3 separate regions of the Homo sapiens genome follow, and regions 1 and 2 are each linked to region 3. The links are contacts of gene promoters, found by promoter capture Hi-C in human tissues and cell types (Jung and others, 2019). All regions are on one chromosome and are shown on one strand. Each heading gives the region's core, a stretch centred on a gene start or on the middle of the fragment in contact. The rest is flanking DNA. Distances are from core to core; before and after follow the strand shown.

What was found. Contacts are between HindIII fragments. The study calls those that stand out against the background at their distance.
Region 1: the fragment with the promoter of C19orf81 here is called in contact with a fragment that was not itself captured in region 3 in 3 of the 25 tissues and cell types used here (dorsolateral prefrontal cortex, pancreas and spleen).
Region 2: the fragment with the promoter of KLK13 here is called in contact with a fragment that was not itself captured in region 3 in 4 of the 25 tissues and cell types used here (H1 embryonic stem cells, dorsolateral prefrontal cortex, pancreas and 1 more).

What each region holds. Positions count from the first base shown.
Region 1 is chr19:50,647,809-50,651,822 of GRCh38, reverse strand. It overlaps C19orf81 (chromosome 19 open reading frame 81), which reads right to left and starts at 2,378. Exons shown (of 5, transcript NM_001195076.2): 1 at 2,312-2,378. The coding sequence starts at 2,378. It also overlaps a transcript of SYT3 not described here. RefSeq lists an enhancer at 3,445-3,494. The HindIII fragment of the contact is 25,500 bases long and covers 1-4,014 here.
Region 2 is chr19:51,062,676-51,066,641 of GRCh38, reverse strand. KLK13 (kallikrein related peptidase 13) reads left to right here and starts at 1,550. Exons shown (of 5, transcript NM_015596.3): 1 at 1,550-1,626. The coding sequence starts at 1,575. The HindIII fragment of the contact is 7,460 bases long and covers 1-3,966 here.
Region 3 is chr19:50,841,832-50,846,081 of GRCh38, reverse strand. All of the region lies in intron 2 of LOC105372441 (a long non-coding RNA gene), which reads right to left. Among named protein-coding and RNA genes, the nearest start is that of KLK15, 10 kb to the right of the region's middle. RefSeq lists enhancers at 1,145-1,666, 1,667-2,189. The HindIII fragment of the contact is 7,245 bases long and covers 1-4,250 here.

The DNA.
Region 1 (4,014 bases), core at 1,129-3,628, 190 kb after region 3:
TATTTAATACATTTAAATGTATATGTGTAATTAAATTAACATAAGCATAAACTTAAAAATAAGTACTTATTGAAAAATTGAGGAAATGCAACCATTTCAAGCTTTTTTTTTTTTCCTTTGGTGACAGAGTCTCACTGTGTTGCCCAGGTTGGAGGGTCATGGTGCAGTCATAGCTCACTGCAGCCAGGAACTCCTGGGCTTAAGGGATCTTCCTGTCTCAGCCTCCCAAGTAGCTGGTTAAATTTTTTTAACAGGCATCTCAGAGGGCCCCTGTGTGCCTTGGAGGATGCTGGGGACCAAGAGATGAATGAGACACACCTCTGCCCTTTCAGAACTCTCAGATAAAGGGCAATGTGTGTTTCAATGAAAGTGTTACAAGGTGGAGGGAAAGCCCAGTCTCCCGGTCTAGGGGCAATCAGGGAAGGCTCTCTAGAGGAGGTGTCCACAGTGAGACCTAAAGAATAAGAAGGTATTTACCAAATAAAGAGGTGACAGAGAGAAGGATGTTTCCCATGAAGGGCCTAGCATGGGCCAAGGTTTTTGAGCAAAAGAGAAGAGAGTCACCTGCAAGAACTTCCCAGAATTCCCTTGAGCCCCAAGACTAAAGAGCGCTTATTGCCATTGGAGGCTATGAATGATCTGTGAGATGGCGTGTTTCACGTCTCCTCTCCCAGCATGAGAACAAGCCAGGCCGTTTCATCCATTAGGCACTACAGGCAAAATGCTTGGGACCCAGGGGCTTTCTAATGGCCTATGCTGAAGTTTGCAACCTGATCAACTAAAAAATGTGATTGGTTCCACAACGCTGCAAAGAAAACAGCAAAATCGAAATGAACAAACGTCGATCAACAAAACTAGCCAACTGGTCGACTCAACTCCACTTGACTTTTCTGGAGCTACATATAAATTACATGTCACGTGGGTGCCTCAGTCTAGGCTAGAGATGGTGCATTGTGGGGTCTCCAAAAGAAAGATGCCTTCAAAAGCACTAAAAGAGACCTAAAGGCAGAGAAACAACGCCTGTTTTGCCATCAGGGCATTTGTTCGGCCTCGAAGGCTGAGGTGGGAGGATCACTTGAGCCAGGAGCTCAAGGCTGCAGTGAGTTTTGGTTTTGGGTGTTTTTGTTTGTTTGTTTGTTTGTTTTGTTTTTTGAGACAGAGTCTCCCTCCATCACCCAGGCTGGAGTGCAGTGGCACAATCTTGGCTCGCTGCAGCCTCTGCCTCCTGGGTTCAAGCGATTCTCCTGCCTCAGCCTCCCTAGTAACTGGGATTACAGGCACCCGGCACCACACCTGGCTAATTTTTGTATTTTTAGAGATGGGGTTTCACCATGTTGGCCAGGCTGGCTGGCCTTGAACTCCTGACCTCAGGTGATCCACTCACCTCGGCCTCCAAAGTGCTGGGATTATAGGCGTGAGCCACCACACCCAGTCCTGAGTTTGGTTTTCTATTACCTGCAGTTACATGCATCCTCACTGAGATACTACTCCATAAATGTTGAATGAGTGTAACTGCATGAGCTGTGCTACAGCACAGAGTGCTAGCAGGAAGTGCTGGGCTAGGAGCCTGAAGTTGTCAGCAGGGGTCAGACCACACAGGGCCTCAAAAGCCAGGCTGGAGCTTTGGGTCTCTGTCCTAGAGGTGACAGGAAGCTAGGAAGTGTTATGAGCAAGGGACAGCCAGGATCACTGCAGGAAGTCAGAGAGACCTCTCTGGAGCCATGGAGGGATAGGTAGGAGGAGAGAAACTGGGGACCAGGGAGGAGGTGAGGAGAGGGTCCACATGGAAGAGGATGAGACCTGGGACAGGGCTGCGGGGACAGAGAGGAAGGAATGGGGAAGGGAGAGTCAGAGGGCAGGAAGATAGGGCCTGATGGGCTGTGGGAGGGAATTGTGGGAGGTGGAAGGATGGCACCAGTGACTGGGTTGGCGGTGGGGCCATTTGAAAATGGAAACCAGGAAGGAGGAGAGCAGCTTTGGGGGAAGATGCTGAGCTCAGGGTGGGAGACAAGACAGTGAGGTTACCTAGGAGAAGAATGGCCTCAGAGGTGTTGCTTAGGCCCCAGAGGCTCATGGGAAATGTAGTTCTGAGTCCAGGGCATTGGCCAAGGAACTGCAGAGGCTCATGGGAAATGTAGTTTGAGGTCCAAGGGGGCCGCTCTCCAGGAATCTGGTGAATCCAGGAATGCTAGGGATGGCTTTCACTTTGGAGTGCCAGTGACTCGCTTAAGGCCACACTGTGAGCCCGGGCTACTACGCACTGCCTGGATGGAGGAAGTCCACCCCTTCCCCCAAAGACACAGCTCAGTACCTGCCTTCCTGTGCATGGTGGGGCTGCCCATGGCAGGGAAGCACACGGGCTCCACCTCTGGCTGCATCCTGGGAAGGTGGGTGAGGGATGTCTCAGGAAGGTGGCAAGAGAGGCTCTGCCTGGGCCACCCACCCCAGCTCCTTCTCCCCACCGCTGCCTCCTCTACCTCCTCTTTGAAGCCCCGGGGTAGAATTACAGAGGAACTGGAAGGCTGAGACCATGTGGAGATCTGGGTTCCCCTGACCTCAGGGACTCCCTGTGTGCCCCAATCCCTTCTTTCCCATTTCCCTGTTTTTCCTCCTATCTCTCTCTGTCTCCTAGAGTCCCTTTCCCCACCCCTCTCTCTCCACCTCCCTTCCTCATTCTCTCCCCATCTCTCTGCCCCCCTGCCTCCTCCCCTCTGTCCCCACGTCTCCACCACTCTTTTGCTTGATTTCTCTGCCCTCCTCCTCCCTCCTTCTCTCCTGGGCTCCATCTCTTCAGTCTCCATCAGTTTCCCCAGCATCTCCCCAGGCCCCCGTCCCTCCTTGTCTTCATCGTTTTCTGCCTCTCCCTAACCCCGTCACCCTCTCTCTGTCTTCCCACCTCTCACCAGTCTCCTTGCCCCATCTCTATCCTCTCCTAGCTGCCTCCACTGCCCCCTTGAGGCCCCCTCCCCTCTGTCATCCCCTTTCTGTTCCCACTTGCCCTCTGCTCATCCCTGCCCCAGCCAGGAACTGGTTAGAAACAGGCGAGATTCCAACGAAAGTGGGTTCTCTAGTGGGGAGGGGATGGTGGGCAGGGGGCCTGGTTGCCATGGTGCCTCCAGAGGGAGGGGGAGGGGTGGGGGCCTGGATTCCTGGGTCTGAGGGAGGAGGGCCTGGGGTCTGGACTCCTGGGTCTGAGGGAGGAGAGGATGGGGGCCTGGACTTCTGGGTCTGGGGTCTCACGGGGCCTCTCGTGCTAGAGAGAAGGGGTCTAGCCGTGTAGGTGCCTGTTCAGCATCCCTTTCTCTGGGTCTGCAGAGCTCTCTGCAGGAATTGTGGGAGAGGAAGCTGGACCTTCGCTTATTTGTTTTGTCTGTCCTTGCAGTCTTTGTCTCTGTTACTTGTATCTCTTTCTCTTCCTCTTTCTCCACATCCAGATGGTCTCTGGACTGTCTGTTGTTCCTGCTTACTAAGTATTCGTTCTAGGTGGTGGCACCTTGATTTCCTCAGTGATTTGTTCAGTGGCGAGCTTAAGAATCAATCTAGGCTACAAAGTCAACCTTTGGACTTTTGCTGGACCTGTTAGAAAACAGGGTTTTTCCCCTGTGGTTTTGGGGCTGGTCAGAGCCAGGGTTGGAGCTCTCGGTGCTACCACATCACCATGCAGGGAGATAACTTGCCTGAGAGCAAAGACAACACGAGGGAAGCATAGCCCAAAGATACAGACAGTTGGATTCCTGGAGATGATTGGAACACCTGGATCCAGCAATGCCTGAAGCCCTCATCCAATCAATAAACTTCCTTTTATGCTTAGGTCAATTTGATTTGCGTTTCCGTTATTAGCAATTAAAACAGTCCAGATTGAAATAGTCTTACTCAGTTCTGGGGGCCCTGACCCCCTCCTGGCATCTTCACATCTGCTTCTCTCCCATCAAGCTGTCTTCCATTTCCAGCTGGCAATTTTATCTCAGCGGGATGGAGGACATGATTGCCTTGACCACAGGCACACCTGACCCT
Region 2 (3,966 bases), core at 301-2,800, 220 kb before region 3:
CCAAATTCTGACCCCACCTCAGTCCTTAATCCCTAATCCTGTCCCCTCCACCCCCTAGGATTAACTCAGGGCTCCACCCAGTCATAGTTCCTGGAGACACCTACTCATTCTCAAAACACCACCCCTTCCTCCTTCCTCTCCCCCACCCCCAATCCACGTCTTCAAAGCTTTCCGGCTCCTGCTTTTTCCTCTCCACCTAGGTCCCCGTGGACTCCCTCACCCCCTCTGGCCCTGCTCCTAAAAGGCCATTTCTGGAAAATGTTGCTTTCTCAGGTCGCATCTCTGCCCCCATCCAAGTCCGAGGGAGCTGATTTTCTATCCACCCAGCTGATGATTTCCTTCTTGTGTCCGGTGGTTGGCGGGAGCAGGGAGGCAGGATGATGGGATAATTGTGGGTGTCCTTGTGTCTTTCAAAAGAAAAAGGGTTGAGATGAGACTGGGAATTGGAACCTGGATGTGTTGAGAGCTAAACCTGAGATGAGGTTGGAGATGGGACTGGGGTTGAGGAACAGGCTGGAGTACTTGGTATGGTTAGGGATGGATAGGGAGGTGGGAATCTGATAGAACACGGCCATCTGGGGGCTGACTGCCTATTAAGAATTATGCATGGGGTTGGAGAAGAGGTTAGAAAACTGGGTGCAGAATGGGTTGAAGTTAGGGATGGGCATGGAACTCAGCGGGGTAGGGGGAAGGAAATGGGCTTTCCCCTTACCCTTTTTTGGGTCCTGAGGCCTGAAAGTTCACAGTGGGTTCAACTCTGCCTTGGGCGGGGTCAGACCTAGGTCCCAGCACGTCCTGGAAGCTCCGCCCCAAGCAGAGGGCCAAGCCCAGGTCGGGGGTGCCTGGAGACATCCCGCTGAGCCACTGGGGGTGGAGAGGGGGAGGCCAGGGACCAGGAAATGCTGAGTGAGCTGGGGGAGGGAGTTCAGGGGTTAAAAGCCATGGTTCGGGGCTGAAGTTCTAGACAGCTGGCGGCTGACGCTCCTCGTGGGCCCCTCACTCAGGTAGGGTCTGCCTGGGGCGGGGGCGGGGAGCGGAGGAGGGCAGGGAGGGGAGAGAAGAGGGGATAGGAAGGATGGGGAAAGCAGAAGGGCAGCTGAGTCAGGGAGAGGGAGAGTGAAGCTAGAGTCTCAGATCTAGAGAGAAACCTGCAGAGACGGAGAGAGGCGAAGGGCGCGGACAGATAAGAACTTGGGCTAATACCAAGCGTGTGGACAGACCCAGAGGGGTAGAATGGAAGGCAGACTCTGGAGGAAAAGGGCGAGAGTGCACCGACCACCCAGCTCGCCAGAGGGCAGGGGAGGAGGGACGGCTTCCTGGGGTGAGGGGCTGCACGCCGGAGCCCCAGGAGGTTGCACACTGTTCCTCCCACCTCGCCACTGCACCCCCACCAAGGATGGAATTGGAGGCGGGGGGCAGATTCCAGGGTCAGGGCTGTCAAGAGTGAATGAGGCGAGGAGACATTCAGGAGCAGAGAGGTTTCAGACGCGGAGGTTCCGGGCACGCCCTCAACACCCCCTTCACCTTCTCCTCAGGCCCCGCCCGCCCTGCCCTCCCCTCCCGATCCCGGAGCCATGTGGCCCCTGGCCCTAGTGATCGCCTCCCTGACCTTGGCCTTGTCAGGAGGTAAGAATGCGCGGGGGTGGAGGCGCGGCGGCCATTCGGGACAATGGTAGGAGGGGTCAGGCCGGAGGGGGAGGGGGCGTGGGAGCCGCGAGCTCCGCCCCCCGCCCACTCGGGGCCGGGTCCAGTGGGGACAGCTCAGAGCTCTTCCTGCTTGTCCCTGGGTGACCTGGTTTCCCGGCTGAGGTTGGCCCTCCGACCCCAGACCCTTCACCTCCCAAAATACCCTCGCAGCAGCCCCTCCCGCGTTCAAGGCTTCCTGTCCTCTCTGGAAAGCTGAAAGACATGGGTTCGCGTCCTGACGCTGCCGCTTTGAGCCAGTAGCCTAGCAGCTGCTTTGTGCCTAAATTGTTTTCATCTGGAAAATGGGCTTAATCTATAAGTGCTTACCAGAGAAGGTCACTGTGAATATTGAAACGAGGTAATGCGTCGAGCCTTCAGTATGTCGCAGGTAGAAGGGACTTGAAAGTTAGCCACTTAGCCGTTATTACTTTATTAGTAGTATTCCTTTTTTTTTTTTTTTTTTTTTTTGAGATGGAACCTTGCTCTGTCTCCCAGGCTGGAAGGCAGTGGCACGATCTTGGCTTACTGAAACCTCCGCCTCCCGGGTTGAAGCGATTCTCCTGCCTCAGCCTCCCGAGTAGCTGGGATTACAGGCGCCCGCCACCACGCCCAACTAATTTTTGTATTTTCAGCAGAGACGGGGTTTCGCCATGTTGGTTAGGCTGGTCTCGAACTTCTAACTTCAAGTAGCCCGCGTCAGCCTCCCAAAGTGCCAGGATTACAGGCATGAGCCACCGAGCCCGGCCTCTAGTATTCTGTCTTCATACTCAGCCCCTTCCAGAACCTTCTAGATTGTTATTTTAATCCTTGGGTTGACCCCAAACCTATGTGACCTCACCCCAAATTGGTAGTCCTTAAGATCCTTATGGATCTTTCCCATCTTTCCCTGCCGTTGTAGGCAGGTTCTCTGGAAACCCCGTTCATGAATCATTTATTCATTCAACAAACAGCTATTAAACACCGGCCACTGTGCTGGGTGCTGTACAAGCAGAGACACAGTCCCTGCTCTCAGCACCTGGAGTCTAGCGGGGACAGACGCAGATGTTATTCAAACAATTATCCAAATAATTAGTTAATAATTATCTTGACATGAGGTGAAGACTTCAAGGAGCCAAGCCAGGGGCCTAGAGATGTAATGGCGGCTTCCCGACCAGAGGCCTTCCCAAAGGGCTTGACCCTTGAGCCAAGACCTGAAAAAGGAGGGATCTGTGGGTGCCTGGCACCTGGCACCATCCTTGGCCTGAAGGTGGGGTGGCTTTTCTCCTCTGGCGACACTCCCTGGATTCATGCCCGTGCCACTCCTGAGTGCCACACCCTAGGCTAGGAGACCCACACGCTACGCCTTGTGGAGTCCTCAACAACCTGGCGAGGTAGGTGCATTGTAATTACTCCAATTTCATGGCAGAGAAACCTAGGACTCAAAGACAGAAGGCTCCTGCTCCAATGACACCGGCGATGCCTGAGTCAGAATCCTAATCAAGGTTGTTTTCCCTGTCCATATCCTGGACTTGAGGCTCTGAAAACCATTTTTATAACTTTTGACCTAATCATTTGCTTAAAGTTAGCTTTTTTTCTTCTTTTTTCACTCAAACAAAAGCATGTTCAACTTTATATTACTGTCCTGAATAGAGAATAGAATTCTTTGTCATAAATAGAAGGTAAGGAAGGAAATAAATCCTGCACAATGAAAAGAAAATAATATGTTTATTGGGTTGGACCACCTGAAATTGCTGATACTTGACCCTTTTTGACCTTCCTAAAACAACTTTTGCAGATGGTTCAGTGTAATAAATGTTAGGTGGCCTGATGAGGCTTCTGTGTCCTCCTGGCTTTGAAAAGTGAGCTCAGTGAGGATTAGGGAGGTGTTAAAACCATATTAGCACCATCCTGAGACTTTATCCTTGACAAAATCAGGTTTAAAAGAGAACTGGATGCTGGTTCAGCGTCTGAGTGTGCGATTTAACGTTACTTAAATCTCATCTCTCTACCATCTAAAATGATCCTGTGCTCACCGACAACTTCTGTCCCTAACTGCAAACCACTGAGCTAATCCAACTGCTTGCCCTGTAGTTGGGGAAACTAGCTAGGGAGGCAGAGGGACCTCCTGTTGTAGCTAATAATTAATAATAACATTTCCCACTGACTGAGTGCTCTCCATGCCACCTGCTGTGCTGCACGGTTTGAAATGCAGGATCATCTTGAATTCTTCAACTGCGCAATGAGAGATGAACTATTACTTTTTCTACTTGACAGCTGGGGAAACTGAGGCTGGTGATTTGC
Region 3 (4,250 bases), core at 872-3,371:
TAATTTCATTTTTATCATATTTGATCAAAATCTGTTTTTCATTATTAATCCTTTAGAAACATTTCTTTCAGCTTCAAAGCTTTTATTTATTTAAATTTCATATGATTTGTCTAGGATTCTTGCCCAATTTGGGGAGAAATAATAGTAAGTTTCTTTCAAATGTCAGCTGAAAGATTTCAGGACATTTCAAGTGTTCTGATCCACCAATTAATCTAACACGGTTTATAAGCTAATGACACTAGTTTATCGTTCCTTTTCTTATTGAGGGATATTATTATGAGTTTATGTTATCTTCATCAAGTCACAGTTGTGACAACTAGCAAATATCAGTTAAATGAGAAATTAATGAATAGCTATATAGATGGGATGAGATACAGAAACAGATGGACAAACAGAGAGGGTTAGAGAGGCTAGAAAATATGAGAGATAACCTTTGTTATCTAACACAAAGAAAAGGCTTCTTGACACAACTTCAGAAGCACAAATCATAGACCAAAATTTGGATGTACTTCATTATAGGAAAATTTAGAATTTTTGCTTAGAGGGCACTGTCATCCAGAAACTTGTATAAGAATTCAGAATTTCTATTTATAAAAGATGACTTATACAATGTTCAAAACCAAAAAGAGATCACCATTTAGAAGGCACAAGAAACTTCTGACATGAACAAGAGAGCAACCCCTAAAAAAATGGACAAAGCATATGAACAGGCAATTAATAAAAAAGAAAAGTCAAGTGGGGGGAGGGATAGCATTAGGAGATATAACTAATGTAAATGACGAGTTAATGGGTGCAGCACACCAACATGGCACATGTATACATATGTAACAAACCTGCACGTTGTGCACATGTACCCTAGAACTTAAAGTATAATTAAAAAAAACAAACATATATATATATATATATATATATATATATATATATATATATATATATATAAAGAAAAGTCAAAAAGCTAATGTGGGGAGAAAATGGTGGCTAGGAAGCAGGACTAACTTGCAGCTCCCACTCAGATGGACAGAGCAGCATGTGGAGACTCACGTCTTGAATTTTTGCTCCAAGAACTACTGCAGGAACATACCAGGAAAGCCAAGAGAACCCACAGACCCTTTGAAGGAAGCACATTGCTGCTGCAGGCTCCAGGAGACAGCTGAAAAACTGTGAGTGCTCAAAGTGTGAAAAGTGTGAAGGGGGGATCATCCGCCCCTGCACACACATCCTCACTGGGGAATCTGAAGGTCCAGATCATGGGAGAAGGATTTGACCTTACCTGGAGCCGAGATGAACTTAGAGAGCTGAATGAAATACGGGGGGTAGAGAAAGCAGCAGGAAGAGCCCTGAGGGTACTGTTGGTCCCCAGGGAAGCCATTTCTGACTTCATCTCACAGGGGTCCTTGGGGAGGGCTGCCAACGGAATTGGGGAAAGACTACAGGGAGAAGGAAGCTTCCAGCTGAACTTTGCAACAATTTCAACTGAACACGAAGTTTCCTGGACAGAACTCAGGGGAGGGGGTGAACTGTGAGTGCAGACATGAGCACAGAAGCTGCAGCAGGTGGGGAGGCACGAAACCTGAAAGCCCTGCTTGCTTTCTCAGCAGGGAGGCTTGTAGCCTGGGGCGAGTTCCCAGCCCTGCGCACCTGCTGCCTGCAAACAAACTGTGCATTGATTGGGGATGCACACAGTGGGAATGAGACCAGCTTTTTGGGCTGCATGGGAGCTGGGTGAGCCCTGAAACTGCTGGCTTTCTCCCACTTCCCTGGTGACCCACATGATGCAGTAGAGGCAGCCATAATTCCCCTGGGAACATAACCTCATTGGCCTGAGAACCACACCCCACCCCCACACAGCAGCCACAGCGACCCTTACCCAAGGAGAGTCTGAACTCAGACACCCCTAACCCTGCCCCCACCTGATGGTGTTCCTCTACCTGCCCTAGTAGCCAAAGACGAAGGACATACTCTCTTGGAAGCTATCTGGCCCCATCCTCCACCTGAGAAACCTGAATACTTATCCAGGTAACCCTAGGGCAAGCTGTTTTCCTCCCTGTACTACTGCAGCTGATGCTGTCTTGAAAGTGCCGTCTCCTGGCTGGAGGCCAACCAACACAAAACCAGCGCACTAAAAAATAATACAACCAAGGAACCCCAGCGAGTCTACTTTACTCCTCTGTTACCTCCAACGGAGCAGGTGCTGATATCCACAGCTAAGAGACCTGAAGATGAATCACATCACAGGACTCTTTGCAGACACCCCCCAGTACCAGCCCAGAGCGCAGACGCTCCACTGGGTAGCTAAATCCAGAATCTGAGCAGCCCTTGAGACCCAGATCTTCCTTCTGACATAGTCTACAAAGGAGAAGGAACCAGAAAACCAATTCTGGTAATACGACAAAACAAGGTTATTTAACACGCCAAAAAGATCACACCAGCTCACCAACAATGGATCCAAACCAAAAAGAAATCTCTGAAATTGCCAGAAAAAAAAAAAATCAGAAGATCAATTACTAAGCTACTCAAGAAGGCACCAGAGAAAGGTGAATACCAACTTAAAGAAATTTTAAAAAGTGTTACCGGATATGGACAGAAAAATCTCCAGAGAAATAGCGTAAATCAAAAACAATTACAATTTCTGGAAATGAAGGACACACTTAGAGAAATGCAAAATACACTGGAAAGTCTCAGCAATAGAATCAAACAAGTAGAAGAAAGAACTTAAGAGCCCAAAGACAAGACTTTTGGATTAACCCAATCCAACAAAGACAAAGAAAAAAGTATTTTTAAAAAATGAACAAGACCTCCAAGAAGTTTGGGATTATGTTAAACAACCAACCTAAGAATAATTCATGTTCCCAAGGAAGAAGATAAATCTAAAAGTTTGGAAAACATATTTGAGGGGAATAATCTTCCTTGGCCTTGCTAGAGATCTAGATATCCAAACATGAGAAGCTCAAAGAACGCCTGGGAAATTCATTGCAAAAAGATGACCACTGGTCGGGCGTAGTCGTTCACGCCTGTAATCCCAGAACTTTAAGAGACTTAGGCAGGCCAATCACAAGGTCAGGAGATCGAGGCCATCCTGGCTAACACAGTGAAACCCCTTCTCTACTAAAAATATAAAAAAGTAGCCGGGTGTGGTGGCACGCACCTGTAATCCCAGCTACTCGGGAGGCTGAGGCGGAAGAGTCTCTTGAACCCGGGAGGCGGACGTTGCAGTGAGCCGAAATCGCACCACTGCACTCCAGCCTGGGCAACAGAGTGAGACTCCATCTCAAAACAAAACAAAACAAAAAAAAGATGACCCCCCTAGGCACATAGTCATCAGGTTATCTAAAGTCAAGATGAAGGAGCATCAGGTAACCTATAAAGGAAAACCTATTAGATTGACAGCAGATTTCTCAGCAAAAACCCTACAACCTAGAAGGGATTGTGGTCCTGTCTTTAGCCTCCTTATACAAAACAATTATCAGCCAAGAATTTTGTATCCAGTGAAACTATTGGCAGAACACACAACAACTCCGGGTCAGAGACAAAGGACTTTATTACTCATGGCACAGCCGGCAGCATGAGATTCATGTTCACATGGGCTCACCTTGCCCCCCAGGTCCTACAGGGATGATCAGAGTGGCTCAGGCAGATGCTGCGCACACAGTGGTTTGCGTCAATGCTGGGGAACCTCTGTTTACATGTATTTACAAATCTTCAATCTTATAAGGGAGATGCAAGGAAATCTGCTTGACTTTGAAACTCGGAGAGATATTATCTTTGTTATGTCGGACTGCTGATCCACCTGCCCCGGAAGGACATGTTGTATTTACTATCCTAGCCAATAAATAAATCATTATGGAAGGACATTATCTTTATTATCTAAGACAGTGAACAAACATGCTCTGATGCTCTAGAGAAACATCCATAAAAAGACAATCTGGAACTCAAAAGTGGCTAATACCTTTTTCAGGAGACAGGCAGAAAGGTAAGAGAGCCATGGATAATTGTCTCCTAACACCATTCAGTTCATGCTCTCGATGCTTCCCTACAGGATAATCTCAGGCTTCCCAACCAGGCATTCAAAGTGCAGGCATTTGGTCTGGGATACAAAACCCAGCCTCAGTTTACCTGGTTTTTTTGTTTGCTTGTTTGTTTGTTTTTGAGACAGAGTCTCACTCTGTCACCCAGGCTGGAGTACAGTGGTGCGATCTCGGCTCACTGCAACCTCCACCCCACCATGGGTTCAAGCGATTCTCCTGCCTCAG